5 separate regions of the Homo sapiens genome follow, and regions 1, 2, 3 and 4 are each linked to region 5. The links are contacts of gene promoters, found by promoter capture Hi-C in human tissues and cell types (Jung and others, 2019). All regions are on one chromosome and are shown on one strand. Each heading gives the region's core, a stretch centred on a gene start or on the middle of the fragment in contact. The rest is flanking DNA. Distances are from core to core; before and after follow the strand shown.

Evidence for each region. The method cuts DNA at HindIII sites, captures the fragments that hold promoters and counts their contacts. A contact is called where the count stands out against the background at its distance.
Region 1: a contact is called between the fragment with the promoter of PANK2 here and the fragment with the promoter of SIGLEC1 in region 5, in 3 of the 25 tissues and cell types used here (IMR-90 fibroblasts, lymphoblastoid cells and stomach).
Region 2: a fragment that was not itself captured here is called in contact with the fragment with the promoter of SIGLEC1 in region 5 in 4 of the 25 tissues and cell types used here (IMR-90 fibroblasts, aorta, mesenchymal stem cells and 1 more).
Region 3: a fragment that was not itself captured here is called in contact with the fragment with the promoter of SIGLEC1 in region 5 in 5 of the 25 tissues and cell types used here (IMR-90 fibroblasts, adrenal gland, dorsolateral prefrontal cortex and 2 more).
Region 4: a contact is called between a fragment that was not itself captured here and the fragment with the promoter of SIGLEC1 in region 5, in 1 of the 25 tissues and cell types used here (spleen).

Annotation. Positions count from the first base shown.
Region 1 is chr20:3,888,016-3,890,745 of GRCh38, reverse strand. PANK2 (pantothenate kinase 2) reads right to left here and starts at 1,359. Exons shown (of 7, transcript NM_001386393.1): 1 at 1,018-1,359. The coding sequence starts at 1,315. It overlaps PANK2-AS1 (PANK2 antisense RNA 1), which reads left to right and starts at 1,573. Exons shown (of 2, transcript XR_001754478.3): 1 at 1,573-2,007; 2 at 2,197-2,730. RefSeq lists silencers at 975-1,474, 1,665-1,724 and an enhancer at 1,733-2,284. The HindIII fragment of the contact is 29,664 bases long and covers 1-2,730 here.
Region 2 is chr20:3,507,449-3,510,148 of GRCh38, reverse strand. All of the region lies in intron 1 of ATRN (attractin), which reads right to left. Among named protein-coding and RNA genes, the nearest start is that of ATRN, 38 kb to the right of the region's middle. The HindIII fragment of the contact is 5,646 bases long and covers 1-2,700 here.
Region 3 is chr20:3,580,383-3,583,082 of GRCh38, reverse strand. ATRN (attractin) reads right to left here. Exons shown (of 29, transcript NM_139321.3): 16 at 729-948. Among named protein-coding and RNA genes, the nearest start is that of GFRA4, 82 kb to the left of the region's middle. The HindIII fragment of the contact is 8,776 bases long and covers 1-2,700 here.
Region 4 is chr20:3,962,871-3,965,570 of GRCh38, reverse strand. It overlaps RNF24 (ring finger protein 24), which reads left to right. Exons shown (of 6, transcript NM_001134337.3): 2 at 1,547-1,696. The coding sequence starts at 1,554. Among named protein-coding and RNA genes, the nearest start is that of MIR103B2, 47 kb to the right of the region's middle. The HindIII fragment of the contact is 5,048 bases long and covers 1-2,700 here.
Region 5 is chr20:3,711,283-3,713,982 of GRCh38, reverse strand. SIGLEC1 (sialic acid binding Ig like lectin 1) reads left to right here and starts at 1,383. Exons shown (of 22, transcript NM_023068.4): 1 at 1,383-1,513. The HindIII fragment of the contact is 16,568 bases long and covers 1-2,700 here.

The sequences.
Region 1 (2,730 bases), core at 110-2,609, 180 kb before region 5:
AAAGCAGTTGGGTGACTGGGCTAAGGTAGAAGACTATTCAATAAAAATCTCACATCTTGCCATTTTCCCTCCCTCTCACAATCTGCATTTAAACAAGTCAATTTCCTGAAATAGGAATCTGGCAACACCCACCAAAAAGTCCAACCATATGTAAAATGGCATCACACTGTAAAGCTCATATTACAGTATCAGGACAATTGATACTTTCAACAGCAGCAATGGCTGCCAGGCAGCGGTCCTGAATTGAAGACTTGTAAAGGGGAGAAAATACACAACACAGAAAAAGAAACCTAATAAAATGGGGAAACGGATTCTCTGGGAGGAGCGTATGCAACTCCCAAGGCAAAATTCAGAAAGATGTTGTTTCCCCTCAAAACAAAGAGCCTTAATGCCCAGAATGCCACAGTTCTGAATCGTGAGTACCTGCAAATAGACAGAAGGAAAACGGAGGGGATATGTGGGTGAGAGATGACCTGGATTCTCACGAGAAGAAGGGCAGCCACCTTAGAGGTGCACGGAATACAGTTTCAGGCCTGGTGCAACTCAAGGGGCAGTTCACCATTTTCCAGTAAGCCCGAAATTGACGAATAAAAGGGACTTAAAGTATTAGAGAGCAGCTCTTTGGAAACCCACGGAAAACAAACATTGGGGATTCAAAGGATTTGGGAGGAAAGGAGGTGGAAATGAGTCAAAAGAAGCCTTCTCGAGGATAAAATCATGTGACCCTCAGGAAGAGAATGCCCAAGGAGCTAAGAAAAGGGAGGACAGGTCCTGGGGAAAAGCCCTCCACTCCAACAAGCGGGAAGTGCATACCAATGGGTGCGGGGGGGCCCCCGAAGGTACCGCTTTCGGAGCACCCGAGGCCTCCAGCCGGATGTCAGGCCACGCACCAACGAGGGACCACCGTGCGGGGACAGTGTCCGCGCGCGGGAAAAACGGCGGCGGGGCCGGAAGGGGACAGGGTGGGCCGGAAGGGGGGGCAGGGCGGGCCGGGAGGGCGCCCCACGGAACACTTACGCGGCCGCTTTTTCCTCAGGCTTTCGACGCGCTGGCGGGAGACCGAGGTGGGGCCGCTGTAAGAGCCCAGTCGATCCCGCCTCGTGCCCTCAGCCGAGGCCCCGACCGCGGGCACCGACGCGCTGCTCGCCCGGCGCCGCAGTGGCTCCTGCCGCCGCCCTTCGGGGTCCCCGGCCGCCTGCTCCCCAGCCGACGAGACGGAGGTGGCGGAAGCCCTGCCGTGGCGCTCCATGGGCGCGCCGAGCCGGCCCCCTCCCATCCGCAGCAGCAGTCGCTGCCGCCCGAGCAAGCCCCCCAGCGTCGGATTCCTTCTCGCCTCCTCCGCGGCAGTCCAGCCAGAGCAGAGGCGCGCCCTCGGCCGGCCGCCTCTTCCGTTGCGCCAACGCGCAGGAAGCCAATCCGACGAGGCTGGGGACGGCCCAAAGGCCTCGCGTCCAGTCGGCTCCCTAACTCGAGGAGGATTGACCGTGCCTCCGTCCAATGAGAGGCTATCGTGACGGGGCGGGGAGAGGGTGGTGGAGGAGGGGATCCGGGTTCCGCGGAGGAAGAGAAGGCGGTGTAGCCCAGAAGAGAGTGATGGCGGCGCCGCCCAATGGACGCGTGGGTGGAAGGGCCCGAGCCTCCTCATCCACCCCCTCCTTCCGCCCCCCACTTGTGCATGCCTCTGCCCCCCCGGGCCGCGGAACTCTCCTGGGGCGACCCCGAGTCCCACCCCGCTGCTCCGTGCCGTCCTCGCAGCTCGAGCCCTCCTCCAGCCCAGCAGTGCTCCCGCAGCGTCTGGCCGCTGGTCGTCGGCAGACGAAAGGGCTTGAACCGCGGCTGACCTTAGCCTTTGTCCCTCGGCCTAGTTCCGCAGCTGCCGTCGAGGCCGCCAGCCCCTCCCCCAGCATGTTTGGGCTAAGCCGCCTCCTTTCCGCCTGCGTTGGAGAGAGAGGTACCAGAAGGAATGAAAGGACTGGGGCTTGTCTCCATGGCAACTGAAAGAAAGAGGTGGGTTATAAATCCTTCGCCACCCTCCTGTGGCGAAGGAGGGGAAGTGGGAGCCGGGAAGTAGAGTTGGCCTTTTGCAGGAGAGTCTGGAGCCCCTTTCTGGGTGATGCATTGGGGGCCATAGAAGGATTTGGCTGCCGCTTTGGAGCATGGATTTTTTTTTTAATCATCTTCCTTTCTCTTTTGGAGAGAAAAATTGGTCACCTCCAGGACTGAGACCCTGACCCTTCCAAGCATCCCCACTACCAAAGGCTGCCCAAGCCCGGAAGGATCCCATCCCGTTCTGTACTCTGAGGTCACTTCCTCACTCCGTCAAATTTCACTGGACTGTGGGCTAATTAAAAGTGCCTCCGTATTAGCGGGGCGTGGTGGCCCATGCCTATAATCCCAGCTACTTGGGAAGCTGAGGCAGGAAAATTGCTTGAACCCGGGTGGCGGAGGCTGCAGTGACCCAACATTGTGCAACAAGAGCGAAACTCCGTCTCAAAAAAAATAAAAAATAAAAAAGAGTGCCTCCCTGGGGAGACTGTAATGCCCACTGGGCAGTGATCCTAATGCCCCTTGGGCAGTGATCCTTATTCCCCTCTCCCATAATGATTGGTTGTAGCAGGCTGAACAAAAAGGTTGAGCTTCGCTTGTGCTTGCTGAATAGAATTCTCACGCCCACTCCACGTTAGCTCCCCTCACTGTAGGACTAGCTCTGAAAATTCTAGCTCCTGTAGG
Region 2 (2,700 bases), core at 166-2,665, 200 kb after region 5:
AACAGTAGATTAAAGCATTGTACAATGTCAAATATATTGAAGGTAAAAACTGTACCTTAAGACTCTTAAGACTATCACTATTCTCAGAAAATACATACTAAAGTATTTTGGGTCAAGAGCCACGATATATATAGTTTACCCTTGAAAGGTTCAGAGGGAAAAATTATGTATACACACACATATCTGTGTATGTGTGCTTATGTGGAGGGAGGGGTGAGGAATGATAAAGCAAATGTAGTGAGATGTTAACAATGAATTTGGGTAGAATACAAAGTTGTGCTTTGCACTGTTTTTATTCTTGCACTTTTCTGTGAGCTTAAAATTATTTACAAATAAAAAATTTGTGGCTGGGCGTGGTGGCTCACACCTGTAATCTCAGCACTTTGGGAGGCCAAGGCAGGTGGATAGCTTGAGGTCAGGAGGTCAAGACCAGCCTGGCCAACGTGGCAAAACCCCACCTCTACTAAAAATACAAAAATTAGCCGGGCATGGTGGTGCACACCTGTGGTCCCAGCTACTCGGGAGGCTGAGGCTGAGGCAGACGAATCACTTGAACCTAGGGGCTGGAGGTTGCAGTGAGCCGAGATCACACCACTGCACTCCAGCCTGGGCGACAGAGCAAGACTCCTGTCTCCAAAAAAAAAAAAAAAATTGTTAACATGTACCTCTGACATCTTTCACTTTATATAACATAAGGTTACATTATTAGGTACACACACATTTAGAATCATTTTTTCTGGTAGACTGTGCTTTCATCATTATGAAACGTTACTATTTTGCCTCTAGCAATCCTTCTTAAGTCTATTTTGTCAGATATAGACATAAACCAGCTGTCTGTGGGTTAAGAGTGTGATATACCTTTTTCTCTATCCTTTTGCTTTCAATATTTGACTCATTACAGTTAAGTACAGTTTTGTATCATAGTTCATTGGTTTTCCTAAACCCACTTAGACAAATCTGTCATTGAACTGGTATCTTGAGTCAGTTTTCATTCCAGTGCTGACATAACTGGCATTAAATCTACTGTCTCGCTATTTGTTTTCTATCTGCCTACTTACTCTATGTTCCTTTTCCTATCTTGTTTTACCTTTTTTTGGATTAAATATTCTTATTATTCCATTTTTTTCTTTATAAACTATTATGTTATGCATCCTTTTACTATTTACTTTTATTTTGCTATTACCTTTACTTTTACTACTATTAGTGATTACCCTAGAAATTATAACTTGCATCCCTGATTTATCAAGGCCTAATATAAATTAGTACTTATACCATTTCCTGGGCAATTCAAGGACCTTAAGCTTCACTTCTTCCATCCACCTATACCAGCTGCTTGTGCTTTGTTGGTGTATATTTCAATTCTATATTCTAAATCCCAGAGGACATTATTATTGCATACAATTAACATTCAGTTAAGTTTACCCACACTTTATTCTTTCCACTGCTCCTCATTCCTCTTAGAATCTCTGTATTTCCTTCTGCAGTCATTCTCCTCTGCTTACGGAACTCCCTTTACTGTAAGGCTGCCGGTGATTAATCCCCTCTGTATTTGTTCATCTGAAAATATCTTTAGTTCTTCATTTTTGAAGTATATTTTCTACTGGATATAGAAGGGTAGGGAACTACAGCCCGTGGACTAGTAGCCTGTTTCTGTAAGTAAGGTTTTATTGGAACACAGCCATGCCCATTCGCTTATGATTGTTTATGACTGCTTTCATGCAACAATGCAGAATAGCTGTGGCAGAGATCTTACATGGCCCAGGAGTCTAAGATATATACTACCTGGCCCTTTAAAAAGAAAGTTTGTCAACTCTTGGTATACAATTCTATGCTGGCATTTATTTTCTTTTCTGCACTTTAAAACTGTCATTCCATTGTTTGGGTTTCCATTGTTTATAATAAGAAGGTAGTTTTCAGTCTTGTCCTTGCTTTTTTTTTTTTAATAAGAAAATAAATTTTTAAAACTGAGACAAGGTCTCACTATGTTACCAGGCTGGTCTCAAAACTCCTGGGCTCAAGGAATCATCCCGCCTCAGCCTCCCAAAGTACTGGGATTACAGGTATGAGCCATCACGCCCAGCCTTTTTCTTGCTTGTGTAAAGATAATGTGTCTCAATCCACTGGTTGCTTTAAGATTTTTAACTTTCACCAGGCGCGGTGGCTCATGTCTGTAATCCTAGCACTTTGGGAGGCCGAGACGGGTGGATCACGAGGTCAAGAGATCGAGACCATCCTGGCCAACATGGTGAAACCCCGTTTCGCTAAAACTAATTTTCGTATTTCACTAAAAATACAAAAATTAGCTGAGCGTGGTGGCGCGCCTGTAGTCCCAGCTATTCAGGAAGCTGAGGCAGGAGAATTGCTTGAACCTGGGAGGTGGAGGTTGCAGTGAGCCGAGATCCAGCCTGGCAACAGAGCAAGACTCTGTCTCAAAAAAAAAAAAAAAAAAAAAAATATTTTTAACTTTGTCTTTGGTTGTTAGCAAAAATGCTGAGTATGCTTTTCCTTCCTCATCCTGTTTGGTGTTTGTTGCATTTCCTGAATTGGCAGCTTTAAGCATCTTATCACTTTGTGAACATTCTAGGACATTATCTCATTAAGTATTGCTTCTGCTCCACTCTTTTTTTCTCCTTTTGGAGTTCTAATTACAACTGTGTCCCACATCATTCAAACTCTTTTCGGTATGTGCAAAAGTAATTG
Region 3 (2,700 bases), core at 11-2,510, 130 kb after region 5:
TTACTTTCCCAAAATTGGACACAATGCAAATGGAGTCCAGCCTCCCAAAATAATCCACAATTCCACCGACTGCTTGTGAGTCCCTCTGCAGGAGGAGGAGGCTTATTTTGAGTTGTCTTCATGCTGCAGCAGCTACCCCTGGGCCTGCCTTTAGTTAGCCAAAATGTAGCCCAGAGAGACTGAAAGCTGGGAAGCTACTCCGAGTGTCTGTCTGCTCAGTACTCTCCTGCAGCTCTCGCGTAGTTCTGGGTTGCTTCTGTCCTCGCTTACAGAACTGCTCTCATCATTTTTCTCCCTGTTGACACTACCTTTCTGAACACTGTCCCTGCAGTCACTTGCTTGCTTTACTAATCTTTTCTTTGTTTTTATTTTCCTTTTTTGTTTCTTCTTCCACAGCATTTCTCTGCCAACACCAATAAATTTGCTTTTCAGAGCAATTCTCAATACTTTTTCTGGTCAATAAACCTATCAATCTCATTGTTAATTAGAATATCAGTTTCTTCGAGTAGTGTTAGTTATTTTTAGTTTTGCTTATAATTAAAACTATTCAGGGTCCCAGAATATTTCCTTCTGCTTCTGAAATCTGGGTTATACTCTTCTTTGCATGCTTGAAATCAATACTTCATCTGTTTTCATGACTACTTCACACATCTCAGCAATGAACTATGCCTCCTATGGTTTCTCTCACAATAAACTCTGAATACCACCTAATTCACCTGTGAACTTACCAGGCCTTTCACAGACACTACCATTGAGTGGGTTGATGCAGGTTGCAGCCTTCAGTCCCCGAGTACTGGGTTCTGATAAAATTCCACAGAATCCAGCATCACTGGGCTCAGACGGCATCCACTGTAGTAAACTATTTGTAAATGGGGACATATCTTCCCAGCACCAGTAGGACACATTGATCTTCCGAAGGCCGACCCATGGGGTTAAGGTGAGCTTGGACTAAAGGCAAAAGAGACACAACTATGAATACAGATAGTATCTTTTTTTAATTTAAATTTTGGAGATGGAGTCTTGCCATGTTGCCCTGGCTAGTTTCAAACTCCTGAGCTCAAGTGATCCTCCCACCTTGGCCTCCCAAAATGTTGAGATTATAGGCATGAGCCACCATGCCTGGCCTGAATATAACCAACATCTTGACCAAAACAAGCTTCTAGATAAAAACCACCAAGTTAAGTATACCCCACAGACATAGGAAAACCTCTTTATCCCTTGACTCAGCCATGGTAGATTAGGATAGATCATCACTTCAATATGGCCATTTTATAAAGGATAAAAATGTAGCTCAGAGAAGATAATATATCAAAAATTCACAGAAATTATAGCAAAGCAATATTTAAGTTCTGAAATGTCTATATGAAGAGATGGCTACCCCCAAACACAGGCTGAGTATCCCTAATCTGAAATCCAAAACACTCCAAAATCTAAAACTTTTTGAGTGCCAACATGATGGATGCTGAAGGAAAATGTTCACTAGAGCATTTTGGATTTCCAGATTAGGGATGCTTAACTGGTTAGTATAATGCAAATATTCTAAAATTCGAAACACTCCTCGTCCAAAGCATTTTAGATAAGGGATATTCAACTTATACCACATTTGCTTTATCCATTCATCCATCCTGGCACTGGATTTTATAGGGAATAATAGGACAGTGACACCTGGGACAGTCTGTCTTCTGCTCTCCTGAAATTTCCTTCTCATTGCAATTTTTAACAAGTTTTAAAAATCAAAATATAAAGTTTAGCCAAGAAATGGTAAGTATTCCTAATTTTGGTAGTTATAAAACAAAAGATATACTGTATTTCCCTCCCTTTGCTTTCTTTTGAGACAGGGTCTCGCTCTGTTGCCCATGCTGGAGTGCAGGGACATGATCATGGCTCACTACAGCCTCAAACCCCTGGGCTCAAGCAACCCTCTTGCCTCAGCCTCCCAAGTAGCCGGAACTACAAGTATGTGCCACCATCATGCCCGGCTAATTCTTTAAAAAAACTTCCTTTGTAGAGACGAGGTCTCCCTGTGTTGCCCAGGCTAGTCTTGAACTCCTGGGCTCAAGCAATCCTCCCTCACTGGCCTCCCAAAATGCTGGGATTACAGGCAGGAGCCACCACACCCAGCCTATTTCCATTTTTGAGAGGAAAAAATACACATGCCTACTAAAAGACCTAAAAATAAACAGATCCAAAAGAAAGAAAGACAATTAAAAATACTTTTTAAAGGCCCTTCAATAATTTCTTTGCCTTCACGATACAATTCAAATCCATTACTATTGTAGCCATGGCCTCGCAGGGTCTGGCCTTGGTTCCTTCCTGAGGCTCAACTATAAAAATCCCCTCCCATCCAGCCTGCAGCCAACCATGCAAACTTACCTGCAGCTCACTCAAAGAGCCACTCCCTTAATCATCTCCCTCTACATCTCACAGATGGGGGCACTAATTAAATCACAGAAAGCCCTTCCGTCTTCGACATCCTAATTCACTCCTTCTCACCTGCAGGGGTCACCTCCTTCCAGCTTTCTACCAGCCAGCCTCTGTCCTAAGGGTTAGGCTAGGTGTCCTTTCTTGTTTTTCCATAAAAATCTGGGCTCTACTAACTGGGCTACATCTAGAGGTATAGCTGTGGAAGGACATTACACTTCAGTTGTCTCTCATCTGTCAGTCTTATCATTAAGACTGTGAATTTCTGTTTCATAAACG
Region 4 (2,700 bases), core at 106-2,605, 250 kb before region 5:
AATATGTATTTGAGTAAAAGCACTTGCTCTAACTGAGCCAACCCAGAAAATGGCCAAAGGTTCAAAATTAAATATTACCCATTATTTATGTTTGGAAGCTGTCAGAGAAGAATTTACATGGGATGAAGTTGTTCTTTGCAGGTACTGACTTCCTGATATATGTTACTAGAGACTGGAAACTAATCATAAGATTTAGATTTCAGATACAGCCAGTTAGCATCTCAGTGGTGTCAACAGTATAAATATACTCTTCTGGGAACCTACAAGAAAACTAAAAATCTGTGAACACATTTTTAATTTACCATGCATAAATAAAAGTAGAAGTTTTCTTTGCTTGGTAGAGTTTTGTTTGGGTTTGGATTTGTAGTATTCATAGTTATAATTCCATTGTCAATCTTTGGTCTTAATAAGCAGGCCTGGCAGGAACTCTTTATTTTGTAAGGAATCAAAATGACAAACTACAGCTTATCACTTACAGGAGAGGCATCCTTTATCTGTGGAATTTTAACTGTAGTAATCAGTAAGTATTCTCAAACAAACTGACAGAAATAGTCCTTTTTTTTAATGTTTAAACAACACTTACTGTTTCTGATTATAAAAGTAACACATGAGCAAGGCAGTGGAGCATATGGACTGAGACTGCTGAGTTTGGAGTTGGAGAGGCTCTGGCTGTGTACATACCGGGTCAGTCATGGCCATGGGACCAGAACTGTCTAAGCTTCAGTTTCCTTGTGTATAGAATGGGGAGAAATTGGCCGGGCACAGTGGCTCATGCCTATAATACCAGCACTTTGGGAGGCCAAGTAGGGATGATTGCTTGAGCCCACGAGTTCAAGACCAGCCTAGGCAACATGCTATCTCTACAAAAAAATTTTTAAAAATTAGCTAGGTGTGGTGGCACGCGCCTGTAGTCCTAGCTATTTGGGAGGCTGAAGTGGAAGAATTGCTTGAGCCCGGGAGATTAAGACTGCAGAGAGCTGAGATCACACCATTGCACTCCAGCCTGGGGTGACAGAATGAGACCCTGTCTCAAAAGAAAAAAAAAATTACTTGAAAATGTTTTCATGACCCTTTAATACTATAACATATGACTATATAATTAATCATATTTCCTTGTGAGATATCTCAGTTATTTCTAATATTTTACCATTATAAATATTGTTACTTCAAGGGTTGAGTTATTAGGTTAAAGGCTAAAGAGTTTGAAGAATCTTAAAACTTTTTTTCTTTTTGCACTTCTCTGAGGTTGAACATTTTCATGTTTATTAATTACTGGCATTATTTTAGTGAAATGCCTTTTAGTGAATAAATGCAACTTGCAAAGCTTTTTATATTGGATCTCCAGTCTCTGAAATAGTGCCAGGTACATAATACTCAGTAAATATTTGGCATGGTGAATGAATGAATGAATGGCAAGAATATTAACACTTTGTCTACCATATTTGTTTCAGATGAGGTCATTGTGCCTCTATACGTGCACAATGATAATGCTGTCTTGGTTCTTAGTCTTTACCTATTTTTTTTCCATTCTTTTCTTCCCCCACAGTTCATCCATGAGCTCGGATTTCCCACATTACAACTTCAGGATGCCTAATATTGGATTCCAGAATCTGCCTCTCAACATATATATTGTGGTTTTTGGTACTGCTATATTTGTCTTCATCCTTAGTTTACTCTTCTGTTGCTACTTGATTAGGTAACCAATTTTCATTCTATGTTACTTCAAAATATGTTAAATAATCAATAATCAAGTTTCTGTCCTCAGATTTTTTTTAAAATGAAGTATGATAATTGGCAAATTTTTAAAAAATTAAGATGGCTTACCGTTTTAATCTGTGCATTAGTAATCAGTAAAACACCTTTATATGATCTTCAATCTTATCTACTGATGAAGTGTTTTACTCTGTAGGAGAAAATTGTCCTTATTTATTTTTCTGCCCTTCTACCTGGTAAACAGATACACGTATGTCATTGTCTATCTCCAAGATTTAATCTACTCTCACAGAGATTTCAAAATTGCTTTTCAAGGTGTGGCTTCCTTGTTAGCTAAGGTCATTAGGTATCAGAAAAGTAGGGAAGGCTGGGCGCAGTGGCTCATGCCTGTAATCCCAGCACTTTGGGAGGCCCAGGCGAGTGGATCACCTAAGGTCGGGAGTTCTCGACCAGCCTGGCCAACATGGTGGAACTCCGTCTCTACCAAAAATACAAAAATTAGCTGGGCGTGGTGGCTCATGCCTGTAATCCCAGCTACCTGGGAGGCTGAAGCAGGAAAATCACTGGAACCCAGGAGGTGGAGGTTGCAGTGAGCCAAGATCGTGCCATTGCACTCCAGCCTAGGCAACAGAGCGAGACTCTGTCTCAAAAAATAAAATAATAAAGAAACATAGGGGATGCTCCTTATATCTCATAGATATGTTGACTGCTTATGACTTTTATTTCTTCCTCCAAATTAATTAAATACTTGAGACAAATATAATTGTAATCTACAGAAAAAACCTTTATAAAACCTGTTTATTTCCAGAAATTCCTTTTTCTGACATTTCTATTAAACTATTATTAAAATAATTAGATCAGCCAGGTGCAGTGGCTGACGTCCAAAATCCCAACACTGGGAGGCTGAGGTGGGCGGATTACCTGAGGTCGGGAGTTCGAGACCAGCCTGGCCAACATGGTGAAACCCAGTCTCTACTAAAAATACAA
Region 5 (2,700 bases), core at 134-2,633:
AAAATGGCCAGGAGTGGTGGCTTACGCCTGTAGTTCCAGCACTTTGGGAGGTCGAGGTGGGAGAGTCACTTGAGCCCAGGTGTTTGAGACCAGCCTGGGAACATAGGGAGACTCCGTCTCTACAAAATAACTTAAAAAATTAGCCGTGCATAGTGGCAAGCGCCTGTAATCCCGGCTTCTTAGGAGGCTGAAGCAGGAGGATTGCTTAAGCCTAGAATTTCGAAGCTGCAGTGAGCCAAAGTGAGCCAAGATTGCACCAGGACACCCCAGCCTGGGCGACAGAGCAAGACACTGTCTCAAAAAACAAAAACAAACAAACAAACAAAAACCAAAAAAAGTCTTGTTGCTTGTATCTGGGATTGCTTGGAGCAATTAACATCTGCTTCACATGTCAAGTGCCTGCACAAACTAGGCCCTCAATAAGATGGGCTGCAGTAATGTAACAGTAACTAGCTGTGGTGGGGGCTTTCCTTTCCTGTCCCAAGGTGGGGGTGAAGGTATAGGATAGTGGCCGGGTGCAGCGGCTCACCTCTGTAATCCCAGAACTTTGGGAGGCCGAGGCAGGCAGATTACTTGGGGTCAGGAGTTCAAGACCAACCTGGACAACATGGTGAAACCCCGTCTCTACCAAAAATACAAAAATTAGCCGGATGTGGTGGTGCATGCCTGTAATCCCAGCTACTCGAGAGGCTGAGGCAAGATGATCACTTGAACTCGGGAGGTGGAGGTTGCCGTGAGCTGAGATTGTGCCACCGCACTCCAGCCTGGACGACAGAGTGAGACTCCATCTCAAAAGCAAAAACAAAACAAAAAGAAAAAAACCAACAACAAGAAGCCAAAAACCAAAAAACGTACAGGACAGTGAGAGGGGAAAGAGAAAACCTGAGGAGTGTCCTGGACATTGGGGCCTTATGTCCCCCACAACACGGGACTGCCTCTTGGGGGTTCTTAAGAGTACTCAGTGGTACAGGGAGGCTCCTGAATGGCTTGGAGAATAACTGCCTTGGTCTGGGCATCGTGTAGTGCATCCCCACCCCAGGCTGGGCGCGCCTCCCTCTCAGGTGTCAGGGAGGAGAGCTGTGTGCAGGAAGCCCCCTTCCACCTCCCCCAGCCTCCCTAAGGGGCTCAGAGAGAGTGGGGTGTGGATTTGGCTGGTGAATGGGAGTCCCCCACTCCATTTCTCACTTTGCCTGGGGAGGCTCCAGCGTTGCAGCGGTCCCACTTCTGCTTGCTGGAGTCCCTAAGTCCCTGGCCTTGCCGAGGGCCTTCCCCTATGGAGGTCTTTCCCGTTTTGGCATTGCGCAAGGCCTGCAGCTGCCTCCCTGACCAGCCTCTGGGTTGGACAGTAGAGCTGAGGCTTTGGGAAAGAGGAAGCAGCCCCTGATACGGGATCCTTCTCTCTTGAGCCGGCAGAGCCCTGGGGAGCCAGCTGCACCAGGAGCTCTTGGCCGTCCTTCCTGTTCTCCTCTCCGCAGGTCCAGCACCGCCGCAGCCACTTCCTTCTGTGGAGCAGGTACCCCTGTCCCTGGTCCCTGGGCCCAGAGGGTGAGTGGAGCATTAGGAGCGGGGCTGGGCTGAAACTGGCTGAGCGGGATAGGGGCAGGGGTCGGGGGGGGGCTCCATCTGGGTGCGAGTGGTGGACCCCAAACCAACCCAAGTCCAAGACACTAATCAAAGATGGACTCAACTGAAACCCTTCCACCACCCCCAAATCCTTCCAACCTGCATCCCAATCCCAGTCCCGACCATCACCCTGCTCTGACCCTACCTCAGCCCCAGCCCCAGCCCCTATTCCAACCTTATCTCACCCTCACCTCACTTGCACCCCAACCCTAACCATTTACTCATCTCATCTAATCCCAACCATCCATCATCCCAACCCTAACCACAACTCCGACTCTATCATCCTCATCTCAACCCAGCCTCCACCGTATCTTAACCATCACCTGCACCCAACTCCAACCTTCACCCTTACCCCCACCCATCACTCAACCTCAATGTCCACCCCAATCCCAGCCTTAATTTGCTTCCAGAATTCCAACCTGATCATCACCCTGACCTCAGCCCCAGCCCAGCCCAACGATAATCTCTCCTTACTCTAACCCCAGCACAATTCCACTTCATCCATCACCACTTCGTCCGTCCACAGGAGGGCTTCTGGTGCTGTCCAGCACAGTTTGGAGAGTGAGCACTCCAGCCAGAAGCATTTAGAGCCAGATTAAGGAATGAAGTGTGAAATTTCTACTGCCCATGTCAAAGCCAATAAGCATTAGTTATGGATTCTATGGCTCTGAGAATTAAACATTTGGCCTGTGATTGGGGATTTCCACTATTTTGACCATAATCTGCTCCAGGAATTGCCCATCCGTACCCTGACTCCCTATCTGTGGGCCAGTAACCTCCAGCTGGCCATGTCACCCTGTGTTCTTCCTTCTCTAGCCCAATGGGGAAGTTGGGGAGAAGCCTTGGTGTCAGGAAACAGAAACTGAATCCTACACCCGGGCCTAGCTGTCCATAGGGAAACTGCCTCTGCCCTTTCTTCCCCAGCTAAACTTGGCCTCTGGAATCAGAGGTCAGGGACTTGGGGCCCCAGCCAACCCTCCAAGACCTCCTGAGGCACTTGGTCTCAAACAGGCAGCAAACGTGAGTGCCCACTGTGTACCAGGCCAGCTCAAGCCACCCTGATGCAACACATACCAA